Regions from separate parts of the Homo sapiens genome. Here all the other regions are linked to region 2. The links are contacts of gene promoters, found by promoter capture Hi-C in blood cells and fetal thymus (Javierre and others, 2016). All regions are on one chromosome and are shown on one strand. The core of a region is centred on a gene start or on the middle of the fragment in contact, and the rest is flanking DNA. Distances in the headings are between cores, read along the strand shown.

What was found. The method cuts DNA at HindIII sites, captures the fragments that hold promoters and counts their contacts. A CHiCAGO score of 5 or more calls a contact.
Region 1: a fragment that was not itself captured here is called in contact with the fragment with the promoter of MAP4K5 in region 2 in 1 of 17 cell types (erythroblasts); the score reaches 5.2 in erythroblasts.
Region 3: a contact is called between a fragment that was not itself captured here and the fragment with the promoter of MAP4K5 in region 2, in 1 of 17 cell types (erythroblasts). The highest score is 5.3, in erythroblasts.

The regions. Positions count from the first base shown.
Region 1 is chr14:50,179,281-50,182,717 of GRCh38, reverse strand. It overlaps SOS2 (SOS Ras/Rho guanine nucleotide exchange factor 2), which reads left to right. Exons shown (of 23, transcript NM_006939.4): 6 at 112-255; 7 at 2,036-2,146. Among named protein-coding and RNA genes, the nearest start is that of SOS2, 51 kb to the left of the region's middle. The HindIII fragment of the contact is 862 bases long and covers 820-1,681 here.
Region 2 is chr14:50,531,319-50,534,458 of GRCh38, reverse strand. MAP4K5 (mitogen-activated protein kinase kinase kinase kinase 5) reads left to right here and starts at 1,890. Exons shown (of 33, transcript NM_006575.6): 1 at 1,890-2,011; 2 at 2,301-2,517. The coding sequence starts at 2,410. It also overlaps a transcript of ATL1 not described here. RefSeq lists a silencer at 1,567-2,196. The HindIII fragment of the contact is 11,447 bases long and covers 1-3,140 here.
Region 3 is chr14:50,155,796-50,158,902 of GRCh38, reverse strand. SOS2 (SOS Ras/Rho guanine nucleotide exchange factor 2) reads left to right here. Exons shown (of 23, transcript NM_006939.4): 11 at 257-338; 12 at 1,782-1,904. Among named protein-coding and RNA genes, the nearest start is that of VCPKMT, 41 kb to the right of the region's middle. The HindIII fragment of the contact is 1,279 bases long and covers 1,148-2,426 here.

The sequences.
Region 1 (3,437 bases), core at 1-2,500, 350 kb after region 2:
GCTATTCCATAGGCAGTCTGCCTCGAGTAGCCTATATTGCTCTTTATATTTAGTAATTTTTTAGCAGAATTCTCAATCTCACATTTCTTAACCTTCCTTCTCTTTTTTCAGGATATCGAAAAGATTTTTAGTAACATTTCAGATATACATGAATTGACTGTGAAACTTTTAGGTTTGATTGAAGACACAGTTGAAATGACTGATGAAAGCAGTCCTCATCCCTTAGCTGGCAGCTGTTTTGAAGATTTGGCAGAAGTAAGTTTACAAAACTACTTATATTCTCATTAAAGCCCTAAATGCTGTAGTAAGAAACTTAGAGATGAGTCTTGGCAACATAGTGAGACCCCGTTTCCATAAAAAAGTAAAATAATTATCCAGGCATGGTAGTGCCCATCTGTGGTCCCAGTGACTCAGGAGGCTGAGGTAGGAAGCCTGGGAGATCAAGCCCATGATTGTGTCACTGCACTCCATCCTGGGCGACAGAGTGAGACCCTGTCTCCAAAAAACAAAATTTTTTTGTAAGATATTCTTTATGAAAATTAGAAGATACCACTGGCCATTATAAAAAGATATTTAAGATTTAACTGATAACAAACTAAAATCACATTGCCTATATAGTGACACTTTCTTTATAGTGTGTTTATGGCAATATTTATAGTGAAAGTTTATATACTAGAGTAGTATATAAACTAGAGTAGTAACATTTAGGTTTTTTTTTTTTTTTTAGTGGTAAGTATATTCAAGATGAAGGAAGATACATTTTATTGACCATAGCTCTTTACCTTCTATGGATTTTAAACTTAAAGTTGGAAAGAAGCTTTATATTATTTTAATGTTTTCCAAAGTAAAAATCATTTTATCTTTTAAATGACTATAAAAATAATGTAGCTCATTGTAAAAATATTCAGAAAAATAGATATATAAATTAGATGAAAGTCACTTTATTTTATAACACCCAGAGATAACTTATCCTTATATATTTCTGTGCATACATACGAATGTATGTGTGTTTGCAAAAATAGGATCCCACTATTTTATAACTTACTGTTTTTACTCTGTATATCATAAACATTGTCCATGTTAATGTATATACTTCAACACAATTTTTAAGTATAAATAATGTGATGTTATATGGAGACACCATAACATATTTTAACTATCTATTATCCATAGGTTGTAGAGTTTTTTCCTTTTTTTTTTTGTTATTGTAAACAACACTGCAACAAACATATTTGCACTATGCCTTGATATTCTAATCATTTTTTTTTTTGACATGGAGTCTCCCTCTGTCACCCATTCTAGAGTGCAATGGCACGATCTCGTCTTACTGCAACCTCTGCCTCTCAGGTTCAAGCCATTCTCCTGCCTCAGCCTCCTGAGTAGCTGGGATTACAGGCGCCTGCCACCACGCCCAGCTAATTTTTTGTATTTTTAGTAGAGACGGTGTTCCTCTCTGTTGGCTAGGCTGGCCTCGAACTCCTGACCTCATGATCCGTCCGCCTCGGCCTCCCAAAGTGCTGGGATTATAGGCATGAGCCACCGCGCCCAGTCATATATTCTAATCATTTTTAAGGATATATTCCTGGAAGTGGAATTGTAGTGCTAAAGACTAGATACATTTTTAGAACTTGGAAACACTTTGCCACGTTCACTTCCAGCTAAGTTCCAGTGTATGTAAGCTTCCTTCTTTCTTCACCCTTTCCCTTCACTAACTCGGTATTACCTTATTCTTTTTCTTTTTAATTCTTTTTTTCAAAATTTGTTTTGTTTTCATATCGGTTCTGCAGATATCCCATTAATTTTTGCCAGTCTAATGGGAAAAGAAATCTTTCTTCTTCTCTTCTCTTTTTTCTTTTCATTTCTTTCTTTTCTTTTGAGACAGGGTTTCACTCTGTTGCTCGAGCTGGAATATAGTGGCACAATCATAGCTCACTGTAACCTCGAACTCCTGGGATCAAGTGATAATAATCTGTACCATATTGGTAGAAAATATATTCTTTTAAACCTAATGCTTTTTCTCTTTTTAAAAAAATAGGAGCAAGCATTTGATCCTTATGAAACATTATCACAGGACATTCTTTCACCAGAGTTTCATGAACATTTCAATAAATTGATGGCCAGACCTGCAGTTGCTCTACACTTTCAGGTAAACTTAAATTGAAGGTTTTTTTTTTTTTTTTTTTTAATAAAGCAAATAAATATCTCACTATTTTATCCTTCAAATATTTGTAATTCTGGAATCCTCGTAATCCTTCAAATCTTGTTCATTCTAAACCTGTTTTGGATTATCTTCTGTTTTCTCTCTGGAGTTCTGTCTGTTCTTATTGTAGAAATCTTTTATAGTACAACATCATGAGTACTGAATGACCAGAAGAATTTGGCACATACTAGATCTGGGGTATAAAGATGAATTTGGCTGGGTGCAGTGACTCATGCCTAGAATCCCAGCATTTTGGGAGGCCAAGACAGGTGGATCACTTGAGGTCAGGAGTTTGAGACCAGCCTGGCCAACATGGTGAAACCCTGTCTCGACTAAAATTGCACAAGTTAGCTGGGCGTGGTGGTGAGCTCCTGTAATCCCAGCTACTCAGGAGGCTAAGGCAGGAGAATCACTTGACCCGGAAGGCGGAGGTTGCAGTGAGCCGAGATCGCGCCACTGCACTCCAGCTTGGGTGGAATAGTGAGACTCTGTCTCAAAAAATAAATAGAAAAATAAATAAAAAATAAAGATGAATCTGGAGTGTGATTTCAGGATTATGTTCCCTATAGGAGGAAGATTTGGAGAAATCTTAAAAAGTTGAGATAACCTCAACCTCCTATGTACTCATACTGATTTTTCTATGAGGCCTACAATTTAAAGGAGATAAATACTGTATTGAGGGAGAGTATGCAAGTTAGTTGGTTCAGGAATACACTTAGATAAAATGAAAATAAGTGGAGAGATACAAATAAAATTTTATTTTTACTATCTCAACACTAACAACAAAAGTTATGTTGGCATAGGTAATACTTGGCTAAATATGTAAAACTTCTACATCTAAACTGACTTTTCCAGCCAGACGTGGTGGCTCTTGCCTATAATCCCAGCACTTTGGGAGGCTAAGGTCAGAGGATTGCTTGGACCCAGGTGTTTGAGACCAGCCTGGGCAAAATAGGGAGACCTCATCTCTACAAAATATAAAAACTTAGCCGAGTGTGGTGGCGTGCACCTGTGGCATGCCAGGAGAATTGCTTGAGCCTGGGAGGTCAAGGCTGCAATGAGTCATGATCACGCCACTGCACTCCAGCCTTGGGTACAGAGTGAGACCCAGTCTCAAAAAAAATAAAAATAAAAAATAAACTGGCTTTTACCCCTTGACGTTTGAATATGGTAAAAATCCTTATAGTCCTGAAACAAACAAGCAAACAAATGAACAAACCTTTCTTCACTCTAGTAG
Region 2 (3,140 bases), core at 641-3,140:
AGTTTCTACTTTATGAAGAAGGCTCATTAAATAAAATTTTTGGAAGTCTTTGCATTAGGAAAATATATGCCTCTTCTTGATCAATTGGTTACTCTTGATCTCAAAAACACTATAAAATCCTCTGGTTGGCCGATTTGTCACACTGTTCTGGTTTCGTATTTTCCTTCTCTTTAACGTCATACTAGTTTGCCCACTTATTTTTATCTTGTTTTATAGTAAGTGTTTTCTGTGTGCTGCCTGAAATTCCCTGGAGTAACGCAAGTGTAAACATGTAAGAATAAATATATTTCAGACTAGATAAAGGATCAGTGCTTATATGGCCAGAGGAAAAAAATCTCAAATGAATCTATGACAGTAAACAAGTGCTAAGATACCAATAGAACATTTGAAGAGATTTTGAGTCATCGAAGCCAAAAGTATGTGCCCACCAAAACAAGTGCCAAGAATCTTTGAAAGAAGGAACTGTTCTTCAACAATTTTTTCAATGCAGCAAACACATAGGCTTTGTCCATGGAGCATGTAAGTCTGGGCTTACTTATGTTCCCCAAATAAGTGCCCTTTGTGTGTGGAGCACAAGAAAATACATATATGCCCTGTCCTGTTAAGGTGCGAATTTAATTTCTACATTATACAATTATCAACAATAAGGAGTATTGTCAATTACTCCTTATTATACATTATACAATTATCAACAATAAGGAGTATTTTAATTCTCAAGAGCAGAATTAAAAATTGGATGTTCAAAGCCACAAGCCAACATCTCCAACTTGCTCTTTTATGATGTTTCAGTCACTAAATGCAGTGGCTGAGTGTTATCTGGCTTTTCTGTTCAAATTCTCTATGAGGCTCTAGAAATAACTTAGCCAGTATAATGTAACACTGGCAACTTAATTTCTACCTTCAGAGCAAGACTGGAACTGAAACTGCAAAACAGCTTGTGAAATATCAGCCAAATTACTTCCCCGAACTCCTGTTCCATATATGCTGTGCATTGTTAAGTATTTTAAGACCTCTTATATTCGATAACCCCCCTTACTATCCTGTAAAACGCTTTATAAACACTTTCCTGGGTGTCAGATGCAAAATCTTACCCTCTTCAAGCTGCAGATAAGGACACCGAGATGTTGCCAAATATGCTGTTTTGTCCCAGAGCACATACTGAGGAAGTGGTAGAACCAGAACCAGTCTGTGACCCCTTTGTTTTACTTTTGCGGAACTCCTGGTCTCATTAAAGGTGCAATACCAGCGATGAGACACTGCGTGTGCCCAACAGGGACAAAGGTCATTGAGCAGTCCTAGGAATTCAGACTTTCAGAAATGTCTCAGAAGAACTAAGTAGAAGGCAGGTTGTGCAGGTGTGCAGTGCAGCCTCAAACTGGTACCACCGGGATCGGTTTGCAAAACAGGAAGGTGCAGTAGGGTGTGCCGGGACTTAGTTAACCTGGCACTCCCCCACCTCCTTCCCCGGCGCCCCGCTGCCAGGTTACTTCTGGCCCGGTGCCCTTAACGTACCTTTTCCGTGTTTAACTTGGAGGGCTACGTTCCCATCGCCCTTCTTCCTCTACCCGTCACCCTACAGGCCTACCTGACAAATGTGGGGACGGTTTAGCCAAGGCCCGTTGGCCCACGAATGCCCAGGCGTGTGCCTTATTTCTGAGAGTGGGAGGGAGACAGCCCAGGCCCTGCAAGGACGCGCCCGGCTAGGGGGGCGCGGTGGCGCGGTCGGGAGGGTGTTGTGTTCTCAGCAGGCCTCAGGGCGGCACTCTGGTTCTGCGGCCGGAGTGCTCGGGCGGGCCGCTGGGCGCCGACCCATGCTGGCTGGGAACGTGTCTCCCGGTGACGCAGCCCCGGGTGGGGAACGTGGTGCGGCGGCGGCGGCGGCGGCGACTGTACGCGCCTCCGCCGCCCCCGAGAGGACGCGCCGTGCAGCGGCTGAGTGGCGGCGGCGGCGACGGCAAACCCGGAGCTGCCGGCCGGCGCGCGGGAGGAGGACGCGGGTGCGGTCTAGGAAGTAGGTCCCGGGCTCCGCGCTCAACAAAGACGGGGCCGCCCCCATTAGGTACGGAGCCGGCCCTGGGCCCCGGCTGGCGGGGAGGCCTCGTCGGGCAGTTCGCGGGCGGCCGGGGAGGGGGAAGGGCCGCAGACCGAACGGGGATACGGGGCGCCGGGGGCCCTTCCAGGCCCCTTTCTCTTCCACGGCCCCTGGCGGGACGGAAGGGAAGGGGCCGGGCCGCGAGGGCGCGGGCCGCTGGGGGTCGTAGCCTGCGACGCCAACCAGCCTTTGCTCGTCCCTCGTGCAGACGGAGCTGCGGGCGGAGGCTCCATGTTGGGAAGCGGCGCCGTTCGTGCTTGTTAGCGGGAATCCGGGAGCCGCGGGGTGAGCTGGCGGGGGCCGGGCCCTAAGTGAAGATGGAGGCCCCGCTGCGGCCTGCCGCGGACATCCTGAGGCGGAACCCGCAGCAGGACTACGAACTCGTCCAGAGGGTCGGCAGCGGCACCTACGGGGACGTCTATAAGGTAAGTGAGGCTGGCCGTGCTTTTTTCCTGCGGTCGACTGGGTCCCGGGAATGGGGCCACTTTCCTGCGAAGTATTGGGGCGAGAGGAGGATGCTTTTATTGTTGCCTCTTGGGGAGAAAGCGGCCGGGGTCCCTTTTACTCGGTTCTGAGCACCCTCGACTCATGGCTTGTTCTAATCGCTACCAACAGGCAGAACTAACCACACAGTTGCAAACCGCTGTTGCACTTTTTTTGTGGTTTAAAGGCTTTTTAATAGGGCTTATTTATGGTATTGAAGGGAATTTGAATCTGCTTGTGGAATTACACCGAAGGATGCTCTAGTGTTAGCATGGAAAAATGCTTCATGGAAGATAGACAGGAAAGAATATTGACATTCAGACATTTGCATTTTTTTAAAAAAATTTGTTTCAATGGATGAGTTTGACTAAAAAAGCCATATGAAACCCTGTCTCTGAGCTTTAACTGTAAGCAAACTAATATTGGTGACATTTATGCAAGCATTATCCCATATAAAAAGATGCTTTTCCTGGTGGAAGTTTGATCGTTTGTTTTTGGTTGGCGATAAAAATGTGATATTAACTTGCTGGGTTTTGTTTTACTTTAGCGGTTCCTTTCAGGGATT
Region 3 (3,107 bases), core at 538-3,037, 380 kb after region 2:
ATATTCATGAATTTCAAATTTGAAAACAATCCTCGCTTATTAAGGATATACCATAGTATATTCTCTATGTCAGTATTTCTCTATGTATGGCAGGGATACCATGGTATCCTGCCAGTACCATGATTGTTAGGAAAAGCCACAATCTGAGGAGCCAAAGTAAAAAGAAAAAGGGAGGAAGGCCTCCAAATATGGTACTTTGAGTTAATTAAACTGAATACATTAAACATGAAACCTATTTTATGCTCTGCCTTTTCAGATCCCAATTTTGTTCGTACTTTTCTTACCACATATCGTTCATTTTGTAAACCACAGGAATTGCTGAGCTTACTGATTGAACGGTAAGAAAAATATGTATTTCAGTTATATTGACATTTTGTGAAAAATTAACTGTATTTTGTAAAGTGCCTAGTACCTAATAAATACTCAAGTTAATTATTGAACATATTTTATTTGGCATTAAATTGGCAGTATTACTATTCTCTTCAAATGGAGTACTCCCTAAAATCTGTTTATAAACACAGATCTTTTCAGCTCTTAGAAATATTTCAAGTGGTAATCAGAAAGACTAATTTAGAGGATGAAAGCACTATATTTTAATGAATATTGTTCTGTGTAATAAAATGATATTTTCTTAAAAGAGACTTTTCTACTTACCACTATTTTTTTTTTTGGACCGTAGACTACTTTGCCAAATACTTTCCACTTTTAAAACAAACTTGTTATGAAAACTTTCAAAACACATACAAGAGCAGATACAAGAATATAATAAACCCATTTATTCATCAACCACCTTCAGTAATTATCAACTCATTGTTTCATCTGTTTCCCTACAAATTTAAACACCCCACCCCATGATTATTTTGAAGTAGATCCTAGACAACATAATTCATCTATAAATATTTTTCTATGTATCTCTAGAAAATACGGGATCATTTTTAATAATCAGATATCATTATTAAACCTAAAAAATCAGCAATTCCTTTATTATGATTAACTTTTAAAAATTAGTGTTGGGTTGAATTTGTTTTACCTAGTATTATAGTGGCATTTTAAATGTTTTATAGTTTAAAATGTAGAATCTGGACTCCAGAATGATTTTTAGTTTTACGTTTTAAAACTTACTAAAACTTATTATTATACCAAAGCTTATTAACTGTATTATCAAGATATAATTCTAGATCTCTATCACTATGTTGTTTTATCAAACTAAATTTACCAGACTGAGTCAGTGTAATGTGCTATGAGGATCTACTTAGTTGTTTCCATGTCCAGAATAAGGAAAGCACACGTTAGACTTATAGTTTAGCTGTATTTCCTATGTTTGAGCAAGGTTTTTTATCTTTATCTTATCCACTTAGGTAAATTATTTAAATATTGTTAAATATTCGGTTTTGGCCCTCTCTTTGAATTTGTACTCATTTAAATAAATTTATTAGCCTACTTTCATTTTAATAATATAAATATTAAAGACATTGTTAGATAAGCAATTTCTGTCATGTTCTTTAAATTCCTTATGAATTCTTTCCTTGGCTCTTTTCCCTGGACCTTTTCTGTATTATCAGTGCTAAAAGACAAAACTTTAGTTTTTATAAAAGTAAGAATACAAAACGTCAGTTTTGTATAGCCAAAGGACAGTTTTTTGTAGTATATCATACCTCAAGGGAAGTTTAACAGTAATCCACTTTTCGTGGAAGTGGTAGGAAAGAAGGTTGCTTGCTGTTTTCCTCCTTGTATTTTCATTATGTATGAACGGATTTTTCTCCTTTTGCTTTTCTTCTTAGGTTTGAAATTCCAGAGCCAGAACCTACTGACGCAGACAAATTGGCAATAGAGAAAGGCGAGCAGCCAATCAGTGCAGACCTTAAAAGATTTCGCAAGGAATATGTCCAACCAGTACAACTTAGGTTTGGCTTGAATATTTTTTATATATATATATATACACATATATATACACACACACACACATTTTATGTGTCAGTTTTCAATATATAGTTAACACAAAAGCTCTCAGCTTTTAATTCAAATATAGGGAATATTTTTAACTTCACAGCAGTTAAGTTAAACTAAAAGAGTTCTTTCTCAGTGAAGCTATTCTTAAATACCCTGAAGAAATTCAAATATTTAAATATCCTATGTTTGCATCACATATCTCTGGCATGTGATATGTTATGCTTACGTATCAGGATACCTATTTTTTATTGTAAGTAAAAATTATAAAATTTCATGTGAGCTTTCCTGCTGTCAACCTTTTTTCACACTTTTTTCCTTCATTTCCCTTTGCGATCATACAGTAATCCTGGCTTTTTTTACAATTTATAATATTTGTGGAAGTTCTAGCCCTTTTCCCACTTATCTCTCACAAAATATATAGACATTTGTTAGTTTAATTGCAATAATTTCTAAAAATGTGTTTGATTGTAGAAGCTTCCAGTTAATAAATACTACTGTGTGCCGGGGATTACCCTAAATGCTTTATCTTTTTTATCTCATTCTTACAACATGATTACTATTCCTACTTTATATATAAGGAAATTGAAACCTAGCAAGGTGAAGTAATTTGAGCTAAGTTATGTAAAGGGAGTGGCAGGACAAGATTCAGACTCATGTCTGACTTTCTTTGCGTGTGTGTGTGTGTGTGTGTGTGTACGTACCACTAAGCATTGAAAATTGGAAGCGCCTTCTCTTAGCCCTCTTTACTGTCCAAGTAACCAAAGTATTATCTTCCTCCTTCCATTGGAAACCAAGTTATCTTATTAATTATATGTAATTTAAATTTTTTTTCTCTCTAAATTTCAAGTTTCCTTGATTACTGTTGACCAATAAATTGTAATTTTGGAACTGAGTATATTAGTTATTTATTTCCCAGGATAATTGCCACAAACAAATGCAGTTTTAGAAGAATGATAGTGCTCCCAGCTATATGTCTTTCACTAAAACTTTTAACGTCATTCTTTGTATAAGAAGATGAGATTATTTATGTATCAGCAATAAATAAGTAATTCTTTTCTACTAGCTGTGATGCATTTGTACTTATCTACAATCACATTAAATCCCTTGATATGACACATACATTTATGAGGTTGCTATTGGGTGGGGTAGGGGGTGGG